5 separate regions of the Homo sapiens genome follow, and all the other regions are linked to region 4. Evidence: promoter capture Hi-C in 16 types of primary human blood cells and fetal thymus (Javierre and others, 2016). All regions are on one chromosome and are shown on one strand. The core of a region is centred on a gene start or on the middle of the fragment in contact, and the rest is flanking DNA. Distances in the headings are between cores, read along the strand shown.

The links. The method cuts DNA at HindIII sites, captures the fragments that hold promoters and counts their contacts. A CHiCAGO score of 5 or more calls a contact.
Region 1: a contact is called between the fragment with the promoter of USP18 here and the fragment with the promoter of ATP6V1E1 in region 4, in 1 of 17 cell types (erythroblasts). The highest score is 7.1, in erythroblasts.
Region 2: a fragment that was not itself captured here is called in contact with the fragment with the promoter of ATP6V1E1 in region 4 in 7 of 17 cell types (neutrophils, total CD4 T cells, naive CD4 T cells and 4 more); the score reaches 9.9 in neutrophils.
Region 3: a contact is called between a fragment that was not itself captured here and the fragment with the promoter of ATP6V1E1 in region 4, in 1 of 17 cell types (non-activated CD4 T cells). The highest score is 5.1, in non-activated CD4 T cells.
Region 5: a fragment that was not itself captured here is called in contact with the fragment with the promoter of ATP6V1E1 in region 4 in 5 of 17 cell types (total CD4 T cells, non-activated CD4 T cells, endothelial precursors and 2 more); the score reaches 6.8 in total CD4 T cells.

Annotation. Positions count from the first base shown.
Region 1 is chr22:18,148,877-18,151,576 of GRCh38, reverse strand. USP18 (ubiquitin specific peptidase 18) reads right to left here and starts at 1,407. Exons shown (of 11, transcript NM_017414.4): 1 at 1,355-1,407. It overlaps LOC124905076 (a long non-coding RNA gene), which reads left to right and starts at 2,363. Exons shown (of 2, transcript XR_007067999.1): 1 at 2,363-2,477. RefSeq lists an enhancer at 1,347-1,666. The HindIII fragment of the contact is 4,848 bases long and covers 1,109-2,700 here.
Region 2 is chr22:17,092,243-17,095,048 of GRCh38, reverse strand. The region is part of intron 1 of IL17RA (interleukin 17 receptor A); the gene reads right to left. It also overlaps the pseudogene RPL31P62. Among named protein-coding and RNA genes, the nearest start is that of IL17RA, 8.6 kb to the right of the region's middle. The HindIII fragment of the contact is 2,792 bases long and covers 14-2,805 here.
Region 3 is chr22:17,053,003-17,055,702 of GRCh38, reverse strand. All of the region lies in intron 3 of CECR7 (cat eye syndrome chromosome region, candidate 7), which reads right to left. Among named protein-coding and RNA genes, the nearest start is that of CECR7, 18 kb to the right of the region's middle. RefSeq lists an enhancer at 1-123. The HindIII fragment of the contact is 201 bases long and covers 1,242-1,442 here.
Region 4 is chr22:17,627,390-17,630,196 of GRCh38, reverse strand. It overlaps ATP6V1E1 (ATPase H+ transporting V1 subunit E1), which reads left to right and starts at 1,448. Exons shown (of 9, transcript NM_001696.4): 1 at 1,448-1,594. The coding sequence starts at 1,562. It also overlaps a transcript of BCL2L13 not described here. RefSeq lists enhancers at 1,323-1,492, 1,434-1,523, 1,604-1,753. The HindIII fragment of the contact is 8,319 bases long and covers 1-2,807 here.
Region 5 is chr22:17,115,124-17,117,823 of GRCh38, reverse strand. IL17RA (interleukin 17 receptor A) reads right to left here. Exons shown (of 13, transcript NM_014339.7): 13 at 2,131-2,700. It overlaps TMEM121B (transmembrane protein 121B), which reads left to right. Exons shown (of 1, transcript NM_031890.4): 1 at 1-1,527. Among named protein-coding and RNA genes, the nearest start is that of TMEM121B, 4.9 kb to the left of the region's middle. The HindIII fragment of the contact is 438 bases long and covers 1,096-1,533 here.

The DNA of each region.
Region 1 (2,700 bases), core at 158-2,657, 520 kb before region 4:
GTGTAAAAGTGTCAGAACTGTGCAACACATTTTTTAACAGTCCAAAAGCAAGTTCTTTGATAAATCAATATGAAGCCGTGCACCTGTGTTACTCTCCCTCCCGTTTTGTTCCTGCGAACACATCGGTAACCTGCATTCACTCTCCATCCAACTCTGTTCAATACCAGAAAGAAACTTCAGATGAAATGCTTTTCAGTATTTGCCTTGTTTTCTGGAACAACTTTAAAGTACAAATTATACCTAAATAAGTACAAATTAAAGCCTCTGCTTTAATTTTCAAACACTTTGAACCCAGATTTTCAGGGGTCTCAAAATGGAGTTTTGTGTTTAAAAGTCTAAATTTAGCTTTCTTCCAAGGAAAAGGGTGTGAAGAAGAGAGGTTAAGACTAAAATACTCTGATTTGCAGAGTTTGACAACATCCTTCCAATTTCTCAATATGAATGCCCACTGACCCAGCCATTCCACTTCTAGGAATTTTCCACCGATATATTTGTATGAATGTATACATAAAATTATATTCATTGCCGTATCTGTGCCAGTAAAAACTGGAAACAACCTAAATCTCCATGCATTGTTTAAACAATGTACTTCCCATACCATGTATCAGGTTTTTTTGTTTGTTTGTTTGAGACAGTTTCGCTCTGTCGCCCAGGCTGGAGTGCAACGGTGCGATCTCGGCTCACCGCAACCTCCGCTCCCGGGTTCAAGCGATTCTCCTGCCTCAGCCTCCCGAGTAGCTGGGATTACAGGCATGCGCCACCACGCCAGGCTAATTTTGTATTTTTAGTAGAGACGGGGTTTCTCCATGTCTGTAACTCCTGACCTCAGGTGATCCTCCCTCCTCGATCTCCCAAAGTGCTGGGATTACAGGCGTGAGCCACCGTACCCGGCCGAATCAGTTTTTTGTTTTATTTTTAATGCCATTAACACATCTATATGTCCTGCCATGAAAAGATGTCCATAATATACTCAGTGGACAAAGCAAGTTCGAAATGATTTTAAAGACTTGTACATAGAAACATTTCTGATAAGGTACAAACAAAAATGATACTGAGTGGAAGACTGCGAGACACATTTGTCTGCATTGTTTGAATTTTTTTACAAGCTTACAACACTTCTGCAATTTCTTTTTTTGTTTTAATTAAACACAAAGTCATGTCAAAAGTCCAAATAACTATATTAGCTTAGAAAAAAATTCACTGGCCCAAAATATATGCACGTAGTAAATACAGATCACTATCATAATTTGCAGAGCACAATTATTACTTAATTCCTTAATTATCTGACTGGCATAGGAGCAGAGTTGGATGTCTGTGCTAGAAAGAAAACTTCCAAAATGAGCCCCGAACTTGCCTCAAGCGCCATGCAAGCGTCCAGCCTCCGCTGCTGAGTTCCACGTCGGGACTGAGCCGGGGACCGAGCTGGGACCGAAGTTCCGCTCCGGGCCCGCCTTGGTCTGGCCCCGCGCTCGTGGCACCCCGCCCAGCTTTCGTTTTCCACTGAATGGAAAGCGAAACTTACAGCGGCCTCCGCGCCGGGAGCTGGGCGCCAGCGTGCGGGGAAACCCTGCCGGCCCGAGCTTCCCGCGGCTGCCGTTGCAGCCGCGCACCTGCTCCAGACTTCCAGCCCTCGCTTTTTTTTTTTTTTTTTTTTTTTGAGACGGAGTCTCATTCTGTCGTCCAGGCTGGAGTGCGGTTGCGCTGTCTCGGTTCACTGCAAACTCCGCCTCCTGGGTTCAAGCGATTCTCCTGCCTCAGGCTCCGGAGTAGCTGGGATTACAGGCATGCGCCACCACTCCTGGCTAATTTTTGTATTTTAGTAGCGATGGGGTTCCGCCATGCTGGCCAGGCTGGTCTCAGGTGATCCGCCCGCCTCCTAAAGTGCTGGGATTACAGGTGTGGGCCACCGCGCCCGACCTACAGGCGCCTTTTTATTTGCGATTTTAAGGTCCTTGCAATTAGCCTACGTGTTAGAGTCATTTGGCGTTTGGTAGTATCCATGGCAGCATTTTTTCTTTCTTAATGCTATTGTATTTCTTGGATCGGGTGTCTTCACATCACCGGCCTGTGGCTTGGATGCGGCACATGGTGTAATTAGGAGCTCCCCTGTGGGCATGCAGATACAGATATTTCTCCACTTAAGAAGGGGTCAGGGGGCGCGGTGGCTCACACCTGTAATCCCAGCACTTTGGGATGCTGAGGCAGGCGGATCACCTGAGGTCAGGAGTTCGAGACCAGCCTGACCAACATAGTGAAACCCCATCTCTACTAAAAGTACAAAAATTAGCTCGGCGTGGTGGCGCTTAATCCCAGCTACTTAAGAGGCTGAGGCAGGAGAATAACTTGAACCCAAGAAGCGGAGGTTGCAGTGAGCAGAGATCGACAAGAGCAAGACTCCGTCTAAAAAAAAAAAAAAAAAATGGGGTCAAGTCCCAGTGAACCCATCATGAAGTCGAAACATCGTAAGTGAAACCACGGTAAGTGATGGACCATCTGTGTATATATAAGGTTAAGAGATCTGTAACATGCACACCGGAAAGGCTTATTACCTCTTTAGAGATGTATTTCTTGTATGTAGACTCATGGGGGTAGGGGCAGAAGGGTTATCTGCTAGGGGCCTCAAACTCCAGCCGCTGGAATTTGCGCAGGAAAGCAGGGTACAATTCCCCCAAAGCGATCATTCTTTCTGAAAGCCGTCCC
Region 2 (2,806 bases), core at 160-2,659, 540 kb after region 4:
TTAGAATTAAGCTTATACTAGCTTTAAAAAAAATGGACAGCTTTCCCTCTTTTTCTGTGGTACTGAATGGTCATCAATAGAGAATGGCTGAATTAAGGTGAGATCTAGTTTAAATCTAAATGTCCATCAAACTAGAAATGGTTGAATAGATTGCTATCTACTATGGAATATTATGCAAATATTAAAGAGAATGAGAATTAGTTGCATAGACATCTGTTGACCTGCAGATGGCTGGAATGTGTTGATGAGAGAGGAAAATAAGTTTCAAATAACTTTTTATAGTATGATCCCAATTTCTATGGAAATAAGTCATGAAAAAGATCTCCCTGAATATATATATATATATATATATATATAGAGAGAGAGAGAGAGAGAGAGAGAGAGAGAGAGAGTGTGTGTATGACTAAATGAGAATAGAAACATGTTAACAGGTGTTAACACAGTTTGCTGGGGGCAAAGGGCACACAAGCAGAGGAGATGGCATGAGGGAAGATAAGGGGAAAAAAGATTTAATCAAAACTGAAAAATATACATATAGGTGAAATATAGAATAACAATTCTATTAGAGGTAATAGCGCATTGACCATATACACATATTTTCTCCCTCTCTCCAAACAATATAACAATTATAGGAAAGAACATTTTTTTTTGTAAATTCTCAAACTCAAAGAGCCAAACTCAGTGGACAAAAGATGTGAACAAAATTTTAAAAGTCCTTTCCAACTTGGCCCCAGCAGCATAGCTCCTGTAAAGAAGAGTGTTGGCTGGGCGCAGTGGCTCATGCGTGTAATCCCAGCACTTTTGGGAGGCTGAGGTAGGTGGATCACCTGAAGTCAGGAGTTTAAGACCAGCCTGGCCAAGAGATGGTGAAACCCTGTCTCTACTAAAAATACAAAAATTAGCTGGGTGTGGTGGCATGTGCCTGTAGTCCCAGCTATTTGAGAGGCTGAGGTGGGAGAATTGCTTGAACCTGGGAGGCAGAGGCTTCAGTGAGCCAAGACTGTGCCACTGTACTCTATCCTGGGCGACAGAGCGAGACTCTGTCTAAATAAAATAAAATAAAATAAAATAAAGTAAGATAAAATAAAATAAAAGGGCTATTCTGTCACCTGCCACCAATGAGGTGGTGACACCAGAATATGCCATCAGCATCCACAAGCACACCCATGGAGGGGACGTCAAGCAGTGTGCCCCTTGGTCACTCAAAAAGTCCCAGAACTTTGCCATGAAGGAGATGGGGACTCCAGATATGCTAACACCAGGCTCAACAAAGCTGTCTGGACCAAAGGAATAAGGAACGTTCCATACTGTGTCCATGTGCAGCTGTCCAGAAAGCATGAGGATGAAGATTCACCAAGCAAGCTCTATACTTTGGTTACCTGTGTACCCATTACCACTTTCAGAAACTGACAGTCAGACATTGTGGATGAGAACAAACTGTTGATGTCAAATAAAATTATAAAACCTCAAAAATGAACAAATGAATGAATAAATAAATAACTGTCCAAGTGGCAGCAGAGTAGGCAGCTGGCTTGTGCTGAGTGGAGGAACTTCTGTCTGAATGCTACAAAAGGGAGTTATTGATAAGGAGGCCAGGGGCCCCTCAGAACCTTATAACGTTCAGGGCTTAGGGGCAGGGAGAATTAAGTGAAGGTCTACATATGGAGTGTTGGGAACCTTATCCTCTCTTTCCGTGCTCTGATCTCAGAATGCTGGCAGCCAGGCCCAAAAAAAACACCTCCAGATTTCAGCATTTGGAGGTCACCCAATAGGCCAGGTTCACGATTAGCTTGACCTCCTATACAGTGAAGTCCAATGTTCAATAAACCTTAACTACACAGAGCATTTAATCAGCTTTTAGGACTTCATTCTTAAAATATTCTCAGACAGCCAAGGAGTACCAGATATTTGAGATAGGTTTTCTGTATGAAAAATAGATCAAAACAATTAAAAAATGCTCCTGGAAGGAAAAAAAAAACAATGCTGTTAACACAATTAAACCAAACAAGTAAAATTATTATAGCCCCGAAGAGATACAACACTGCATCTGTAAGACAGGGGCAGGACACCATGGACAAATGAGCAGGCAGAGAATGAAAACTGAACCTTGAAACTCAATAGAAGTTCTACTAAATAAAAATTCAATAGAAGGGTTAGTCTATGAAATTGAGGACATTTCTCTGAAAGCACAAATAGAATAGGAAAAAATATATGATCATTAGAGATTCAATTTAGGAAACAAAATATGATTGACTAGATTTCTAGAAGGAGATTAACAAAAAAACAGAAGGAAGAAGTTATTTTTTAAAAAAGGAAAGAAAGAAAATATTCTGGAAGAGAAGGACACATATTCCCCGAGAGTGTGGAAAAACTCAAGCTGTATTTTTCCTCTGCCCTCACATCACCACAACAATCAACAGAAGTCACAGAAGACTTCTGTGACTACATATTGGCGGGGGGTGGTTTCTTCCCACCACCAAGCAAGCAATCAATTCGGCAGCAGACACCAGCTGGGTATCCTCCAATTTAATTCTGACACTATTTGGAGATAGCATCAGATCCCACAGGTTGAGTGCTCAGTCCCCAAGACCGCCCACCCCCTAGACACCAGTGGTAAGTCTGGGCCTCCAGAACTTCTAAGACCAACCGGGTTCAACGTGAGATTCTCATGCTCCTCTCTTTCAGTTCAATTAATTTGCTAAAGCTGCTCAGAGAACTCAGGGAAACACATTTCCCAGTTTATTTTAAGGATATCACAAATAATACAGAAGAAAAGGTGAGGTATAGGAGAAGGAGTACAAAGCTT
Region 3 (2,700 bases), core at 93-2,592, 570 kb after region 4:
TGACTGAGGCCATGGATCCTTTGCACTGTTCCTTGAATTCACTTGGCACTTAAATTCTCATCCTGAAATGATGCTTTGAAAGTGATGCTTGCAGTCAATTATGGGTTCACTGTATTATGGATTCCTAACACCCAATACCTGGCACATAAGAAATGAATGAAAAATAGTGAATGAATGAGTGAATGAACTCAAGTATGCCTACAAGGTGAGAGGAAAGTGATCCTACTTACTAGGTGTGCTAGGAAGGCATTTGGGACTGTTGGCTTTGCTGTTGCATAGTAAGCCTGGGGCTCTGAAGGCTGGCATTTCCTCATTCTAAACCCCAAATTTCAATAAATTACCACCAAGTGGACAAAGGTCCATGGGCCAGAGCTCTTAGTGTGAATAACATACCTTTTTTGGATGTGATTAATGGACGGGGAGTATACAAAACTAAAAACAATGTGTACTGACTACCTGTAAGCCATGGTTATAAAGCACTCTGTATACATGATCTTATTCAATGCTTGCTACAAACCCATGAAGTGGATTTTCAGACACACTTTCTATTCTGGAGCATTTTAAACAAGAGGCTAGCGTAGTGAGCTTTCACCTACTCATCAGCGGATTCAGATATTTGTCATCTCGTGGCCAATCTTGTTTCATGTACACTCCTGCATGCTTCTCCTCTTCCTCTCGTTATTTTATAGCAAATCCCACATATCATATAATTTCCTCCCTGAATGTCTTGGTATATGTCTGTAAAAGATAAGGATTCTTGTTTTGTTCTTTCAAGACAAGGCCTCTGTCGCCCGGGCTGGAATTCAGTGGCACGATTATGGCTCACTGTGGCCTTGACCCCTCCTGCCTCAGCTTCCTAAGTAGCTGGGACTATAGACCCACACCCCCATGCCCAGCTAATTTTTAATTTTTATTTTAGTAGAGACAGGGTCTTGCTATGTTGCCCGGCTGGTCTAGAATTCCCAGCTTCAAATGATCTTCCTGCCTCGGCCTCCCAAAATACTGAGATTACAGGTATGAACCACTTTCCTGGTGACAAGAACTCTTTTAAAAACATAATCCCAATACCATGTTCAACCAACCATCCCACACCATTGCTCTTTAATATTGTCAACTCCCCTGCTAGCTCCAAATTTCCAGTAATTTCATATTTTTTTTGTTTGTTTGAATCAGGATCCAAATAAAGTCTCTCTTTTGGATTGCTTCATTCGTATCTTAGCTTTTTTTTGATCCTGAAAGCTTCCCCACTTGATCTCTTTTTTGTCTCTTGCAGTTTATTTAATAAATTAGGCAGTTTCCCCATAGTTTGGATTATGCTAACTGTATTCTCATTATGCTATTTCTGGTAGTTTGAATTTGGCTAATTGTATCCTTGTGATGTTGATTAACTTGTTCTTCACTTTGTTCTAGTTTTGATAAATTAGTAGTTTGATCTGAAAGCTTGATCAGATTCATGTTGGATTTGAGGGGTCAAGGCAAAAAGACTGTGCTAAGTTCTTCCAGCAGGAGGTGTGTACTCTCTGGCCACCTTTTTTTTTTTATAATGTTAACAGCCAGTGATCAATTATGGATTGAACAATGATGGTATTGTTATATCATTCCTTCTTCATTTATGAGCTGCCATACTTCCAGAAAGAAATATTGCTACCCTGAGAAGGGCCTTCCATGAAGAAAAAAAAGTAAATATAAAAAAGAGATGCAGCTTCTTATAAATTATTGTGCTACCCAGTTGTACAATTTATATAGAAAAGGCCAGTTAGTGGCTTGATTTGTTCTTTTTGTTTACCATTTTTCAAAATGATGGTCTGCTTCATTTATATCCTTTGATGGTGACTACTTTTATTTGTTTATTTATTTAGACAGGGACGGTCTAGCTCTGTTGCTCAGGCTGGCATGCAGTGGGACAATCATGCCACCACAGCCTCAAACTTCTGTGCTCAGGCAATCCTCCCATCTCAGCCTCCTGAGTACCTGGGACCACAGACATGGGCCCTTAAGCCTGAGTAATTTAAAACATTTTTTGTAGAGACAGGGTCCCCCTGTGTTGTCCAGGCTGGTCTTGAACTCCTGGGCTGAAGTGATTCTCCTGCCTCGGCCTCCCAAAGGCATGAGCCACTGTCCCCAGCCCACATTTATTTATTTATTTATTCTTTTTTTTTGAGATGGAGTCTTGCTCTGTTGCCCAGGCTGGAGCGCAATGGCGAGGTCTCGGCTTACTGCAACCTCCACCTCCTGGGTTCAAGTGATTCTCCTGCCTCACCCTCCTGAGTAGCTGGGATTACAGGCATGCACCATTACACCCAGCTAATTTTGTACTTTTAGTAGAGATGCGGTTTCACCAGGTTGGCCAGGCTGGTTGCGAACTCCTGACCTCGGGTGATCTTCCTGCCTTGGCCTCCCTAAGTGCTGGGATTACAGGCATGAGCCCTTGTGGCTGGCCAACCCACTTTTATTTTTTATAAAGAATCATTATGAATGCAGACATTCAAACACATTTGATGTATTTCAATCCACTGCAATTATTATCCTTATTAATGTATAAAATGTCCTATCTTTGGTTAGAAGGAGTCCCTTCAGATTGGCTCTTCAGACGTGTTGAAAGCATCCTAATCTTTGATAGATTCCTTGCTATCCAGAGTGACAGTGTTCCAGGCTTATCTTATACATTTCTGGCCTAGACCTGGAATCAGCACTCTCTCC
Region 4 (2,807 bases), core at 199-2,698:
TGCCCAGGCTGGAGTGCAGTGGCACGATCTTGGCTCACCGCAACCTCTGCTCCTGGGTTGAAGCAATTCTCCTGCCTCAGCCTCTCCAGTGGCTGGGATTACAGGCACACACCACCACGCCTGTTAATTTTGTATTTTTAGTAGAGACTGGGGTTTCTCCATGTTGGTCAGGCTGGTCTCGAAATCCCGACCTCAGGTGATCTGCCCACCTCAGCCTCCCAAAGTGGTGGGATTACAGGCGTGAGACACCGCGCCTGGCCCGGGACAAAGGAAATTAATGTTCAGCCTAGTAAACTAAATTTCCTGAATTTGCTACATCCTCGTTCTTATGACACACTAAAATAGGAAGTGTGTGTGTGTGTGTGTGTGTGTGTGTGTATGAAAATAAAGTGTTAATGTACATGTAGCAAAATGTTAACAATTGTTGAATCTAGGTGAAGGGAGGTCAATGCAGTATTCTTACAAGTTACTATATCTCAAATTTCTTCAAGATAAAAAGCTAATAAAAATGGTGGGTAACCATAGCACAGTAAAAAGAAAAAAGTGGGTGTACCATTTGACCTCTTATTCTACTATTAGGAGTCAGTCTATCCTAAAGATAAAGGAATTTTCAAAAGTTTTTGCCTTTGGGATTTTGGGGAAAAAAACGGGCTTGAGGTAAATCCAAATAAAAACAAATGAGCCTGGGGGGATTTCTGTCCTAATATTCCTCTAAATGGGACCTGGGAAGGCTTTTGAAAAATATATAGGCTATCTCAGAAAAGTTCCAAATAAATTATGTAGCTGCTCCACCCTAATAAGGAAGTTGAGCATAGCTTCCCACTCCCTAGGTGTGGGCTTTGTATAGTGGCTTCCTTCCTAAGACTACAGTATGGAAAGGGGGTTAAAAAAGGTAACTTCAGAGTGGAGAAACCTACAAACCCTACACTTTATTCAGGTAATCAAGGTTGACATGAATAGTCAGAAATCATGTATCCCCCTTTTTTTTTTCTTTTGGTAGAGACGGGGTTCCTCTATGTTGTCCAGCCTGGTCTCGAACTTGAGGTCAAGCGATACACCCGCCTTGGTCTCCCAAAGTCTCCGGATTGCAGGCGTGAGCCACCACGCCCGGCCAACAATCATGTACCCCTAAGCCCATAACCCTGTGTAATTATGCGAAAAATTCCAATAAAGGCACATTCTCCAATATACCTAACCAGTACTCCTCAAAACAGCCCGACTAATTTCAGATAGAGGAACTCCTTATCTTTTCTTCCTCCTACCCAAGATCCCAGTTTAGGAAAAAAATACCGGTCAGGTCACGAGTCAGCGACGTAGAAGGACCCGAGGACGCGCCCACAGGCCGGGACAGGGCGGGACTTCCTGGGCGTCGCTCTCTTCCCATTGGCTGAGAAGGGTCATGAGGATGAACTGTGCAGTCACCTGGCAGGAACCGGAACCCGCGGTTATAAAGTAAAGGAACCCGAGATCTGCGCAGGGGTTCCCTTTGCCGATTTCTCTCACCTCACCTTTCAAACCTAAACTCGAGCCTACTGTTCACCGGCCTAGCATTGCTCTCGCCATGGCTCTCAGCGATGCTGACGTGCAAAAGCAGGTGAGGGGCTTGGTTGGGTCTTACGAAGCCGCGGCGGCAGTCCCGGGGAGTGGGCTGGAGCCCGCCTAGGGAAGGCCGCGGGCCTTGAGCCGCCCAGATGCCGCAGGAAGGTCCCTTGCTCCAAGTCACCAGATCCAAGAGGTCGGCCTGAGGACGGAGATTTGCCCCGCAGCTCATGTGACTTTTGCTCGGGTCTTGGGCACTGCCCGCTTGCCTGCGCGCTGCCTTCTTGAACGCCCTGGCTCTTTGCCTCCCACCTCAGCATTCCCTGTTTTCCAAGGGTATTCACTGTGCCTAGTCGGACAGAGATCTGTGCAAGGATTGAAAACAGCCTTGTGGCCAGGGGCAGTGGCTCACGCCTGTAATCCCAGTATTTTGGGAGGCCGAGGCGGCCGGATCACCTGAGGTCAGGAGTCCGAGACTAGCCTGGCCAAAATGGTGAAACCCCGGTCTCTACTAAAAATAGAAAATTAGCCGGACGTGGTGGCGCGCGCCTGTAATCCCAGCTACTCGGGAAGCTGAACCCGGAGGCGGAGGTTGCAGTTAGCCGAGATCGCGCCTTTGCACTCCAGCATGGGCGACAGGGCGAGACTCCCTCTGGAAAAAGAAAAAAAAAAAACAAACCAGCCTTGTCACTTTTTTTTTTTTTAACCCTGAGGGAAATGCTTAAGGCTATATGATAGGAAACAGTGCGGAGGGAAGAGACCTGCTTCCAACCAGTGTTTTGACAAGGTCGTTCACTTTATGAACTGTGTTTTTTTCTTTTTTTCTTTTTTTTTTTTTTGAGACGGAGTCTCACTCTGTCGCCCAGGCTGGAGTGCAAGGGCGCGATCTCGGCTCACTGCAACCTCCGCCCCGGGTTCAAGTGATTCTCCTGCCTCAGCCTCCCTAGAAGCTGGGATTACAGACTCGCGCCCCAAGCCCGGCTAATTTTTGTATTTTTTTTAGTAGAGGCAGGGTCTCACCATATTGGCCTGGCTGGTCTTGAACTCCTGACCTCAGGTGATCTTCCCACCTGGGCCTCCCAAAGTGCTGGGATTACAGGCATGAGCCAACGCGCCAGGCCTGTATGTACTGTTAATCTTCATTTTGGGGAAGTCCCCTCTATCATAATGGATTGTAATGATTGGTCTCCCACTAATGTGTGTGTTAACATTTGTGAGATACAGGCTGGGGCCGGGCATGGTGGCTCACGTCTGTAATACCAGCACTT
Region 5 (2,700 bases), core at 65-2,564, 510 kb after region 4:
ACATTAAAAAAGTAGAAGTTAGATGAGTGATCTCTAAGGTTGAAGGTAATTTCAGCTCTCACATTCTTTTGAGTTTGTGGCTCTTGAAAGCCCTGGTCCTGATGCTCCCTGTAAAGGTGGCTGGGAGAGAAGCCAGCCAGGCTGCACTTGCAGAACATTCCCTGCTCTGTACTGGGTGTGTGAAGCCCCAGCAGAGAAGGCCGGAGGGAGGGCTTGGGTGCCTGGGCTGGGTGTGGGGCAGGGCCTGGCACAGCTGCAGAGTGCACAGGGAGGGTCAGAAGTGCCAAGTCACTGGCCGTTAACTCAGCACCCAGGCCAAGCCCCCGCCTCCCACTTGAAGCCCCCTCTTACAACTGTTTTGGGGGCTTGGAGCAGAAGACACCCTTGTAGACAGACATAAGAGGGGCAGAAGGCTTGACCAGAGTTCTCTTGAGCCTCCTCATGCTCTCAGAGCAGGGAACAGCGGGGGAAAATGTTTACACTCCATGCACAATCTGTGCTTCCAGTCCCTCACCCTATGTGGCCCAATAGCTGGCTGGATTTCACACTTAATTGGTATTTTTTTCTGCCTTCTTCCCCTGCCCCCACTGACTCCTCTCCTCTCCCTTTGATTGTACTCAAGGTTCTGGGGCCTGGGCCCTGGGTGGGTACCAACAGCTGCTCGCTGTTCCCATGTCCTCTCTCCAGCTTTGCTGTGTTTCTCTGCTACCTAATCTCAGTGACTGTGAAAGGACATTGTGTCTGAGCCATGGCCAGCCGCTGGCTGGCCCCCTGATCTGCCCCCCTTCTATTGTTTGGATGGCCATCTCCTGCTGGGCCTCCCTGACTGTAAAATCTCTGTACTGTTTGTTAGGTTTTTGGTGGGAGGCTGTGATAAGTTCCAATGAGCTGCCACTTCCCTGGATATGTCAAGAAGCTGATGGCAACTTGGCCAATTCTGGCAGATATCAGGCCCCCAGTTCAGCCCCAGTCACCCTCTTTTACACATGTGGGTCAACCACTGTGTGCTCAGAGGGTCAGTCCCTTCCTCTGCTGTGTTTTTCTTGAGTCCTTGCACTCACTTCCCCTGCCCCAGTCACGATGACCCCTAAAGCTTCCTTTGCCCTTGCTTTCTAGGGCATCCCTAGTGAAGGGGCAAACCTGAGATTTCTCCGTGGACCTGACAGCCAAGGCAGGGCACTGTCTCCTGAGGCCAGTGCCAGCACGTGCATGGTTCACAGAAAAGGATCCTGGGCTCAGAATCTCGAGAACCGCCTGCTCCTAACAATTCAGCAAGTCAGGGGCTTCCTCTCTGTTAGTCCCCAAATCCTTACTTATTTTAAAAAGACTAGACCCTCTCTAAAGACTGTTCCATTTTAACATGTCCTGATTCTGCATCCGTGGGTTTTGTGAAAGAGAGCTAGCTGGCGGTTAGAGCCTGGAAGAAGGAGGGAAGTGGCACCTCACTAGCATTTATCACTTTTTTCCTTCTCTTTTTAAAAATAAAACCAGACTCTGTTCTGAAAATAAAAAACTTGAGACTTGTGACAAGCTTCCTGTGTGGTTTGTTTTAAGATCTTTTCTGTCCTGGTTTCCTTACAAAATTCTTAAATGTCACTGTGACATTCGCCATTATTTTATAAGTTTGTGTTAACATTATGGGTACACCTTGGCCCTTCTAGGCAGTTGGCATGTTTTTCAGGGAGGCAGTGAAGCTGTGGCCTGGAGCTGGTGAGTGTCTTGACATGCTTTGTTGGCACAGCCAGCTCAGCTCTAATGGACTCAGCCTGAGAACGATTTTTTCTCATCACCCTCGGCTCTCTCTCACTTTTCTTTCCTTCCTTCTTTCTTTTTCTTTGTTTTTGAGACAGGGTCTCACTCTGTCACCTGGGCTGGAGTGCAGTGGCGCCATCATAGTTCACTGCAGCCTCAACCTCCTGGGCTCAAACAATCCTCCTGCCTCAGCCTCCCAAGTAGCTGGGACTACAGAAGTGTGCCACCACGCCCGGCTTCCCATTTCTTTCTAAAAGAGTAGCTTTCCAAAGGGGGAACATCTTGAGAAACTAATTTTTAAATACTGTGCCCTCCTCTATCACTCTTGCCCCAGCCAGAAGCACAAATTCTTACGTATGAATAAGAAGAACAAGGCCATGGGTTTTTGTTTGGTTTTATTTTAACATGAAGGGTAGTATTAAGTCTAAGCAAGAACACTGGGCCTGCACCAAAATAAACAAACACACAGTGATTTTTTTTTTTTCTTAGCACAGAGGCAGCCAGTATTACACAGCCCCTCTCTGTGTTGTGACCCTAGCTTGCTGCTTCTGGCTGTGCCAAATGCTAAGCAGGCGTTTCACTCAGGGCAGCCCGGGAGGCAAGGTCTGAGAGTGGAAGCTCCTGGGAGCCTGAGCTCTCTCTGCCTCTCGTTAGCTGTGGCTTTGGCCATCAACTGGAACTATGTCATTATTTATAAAACAGGAGCAATCACAGGGCTGTGGTGAGAATCACATGAGGTGACACATGTGAAATGGTCCTTTCCCCTAAGACATATATAATTGTAACAAGGAACAAAATTTACATAGAAAATAATTACAGAACAACGTAGGACCATGTCTTCATTTCTCCCTGGAGCGGATGTAAAATAAGGTGATTGATTTGAGCAAGCATGTTATGAATATTTAGAAATGTCTTCTAGGGAAGCAAGCTGGCGCTCACCGATTTTGG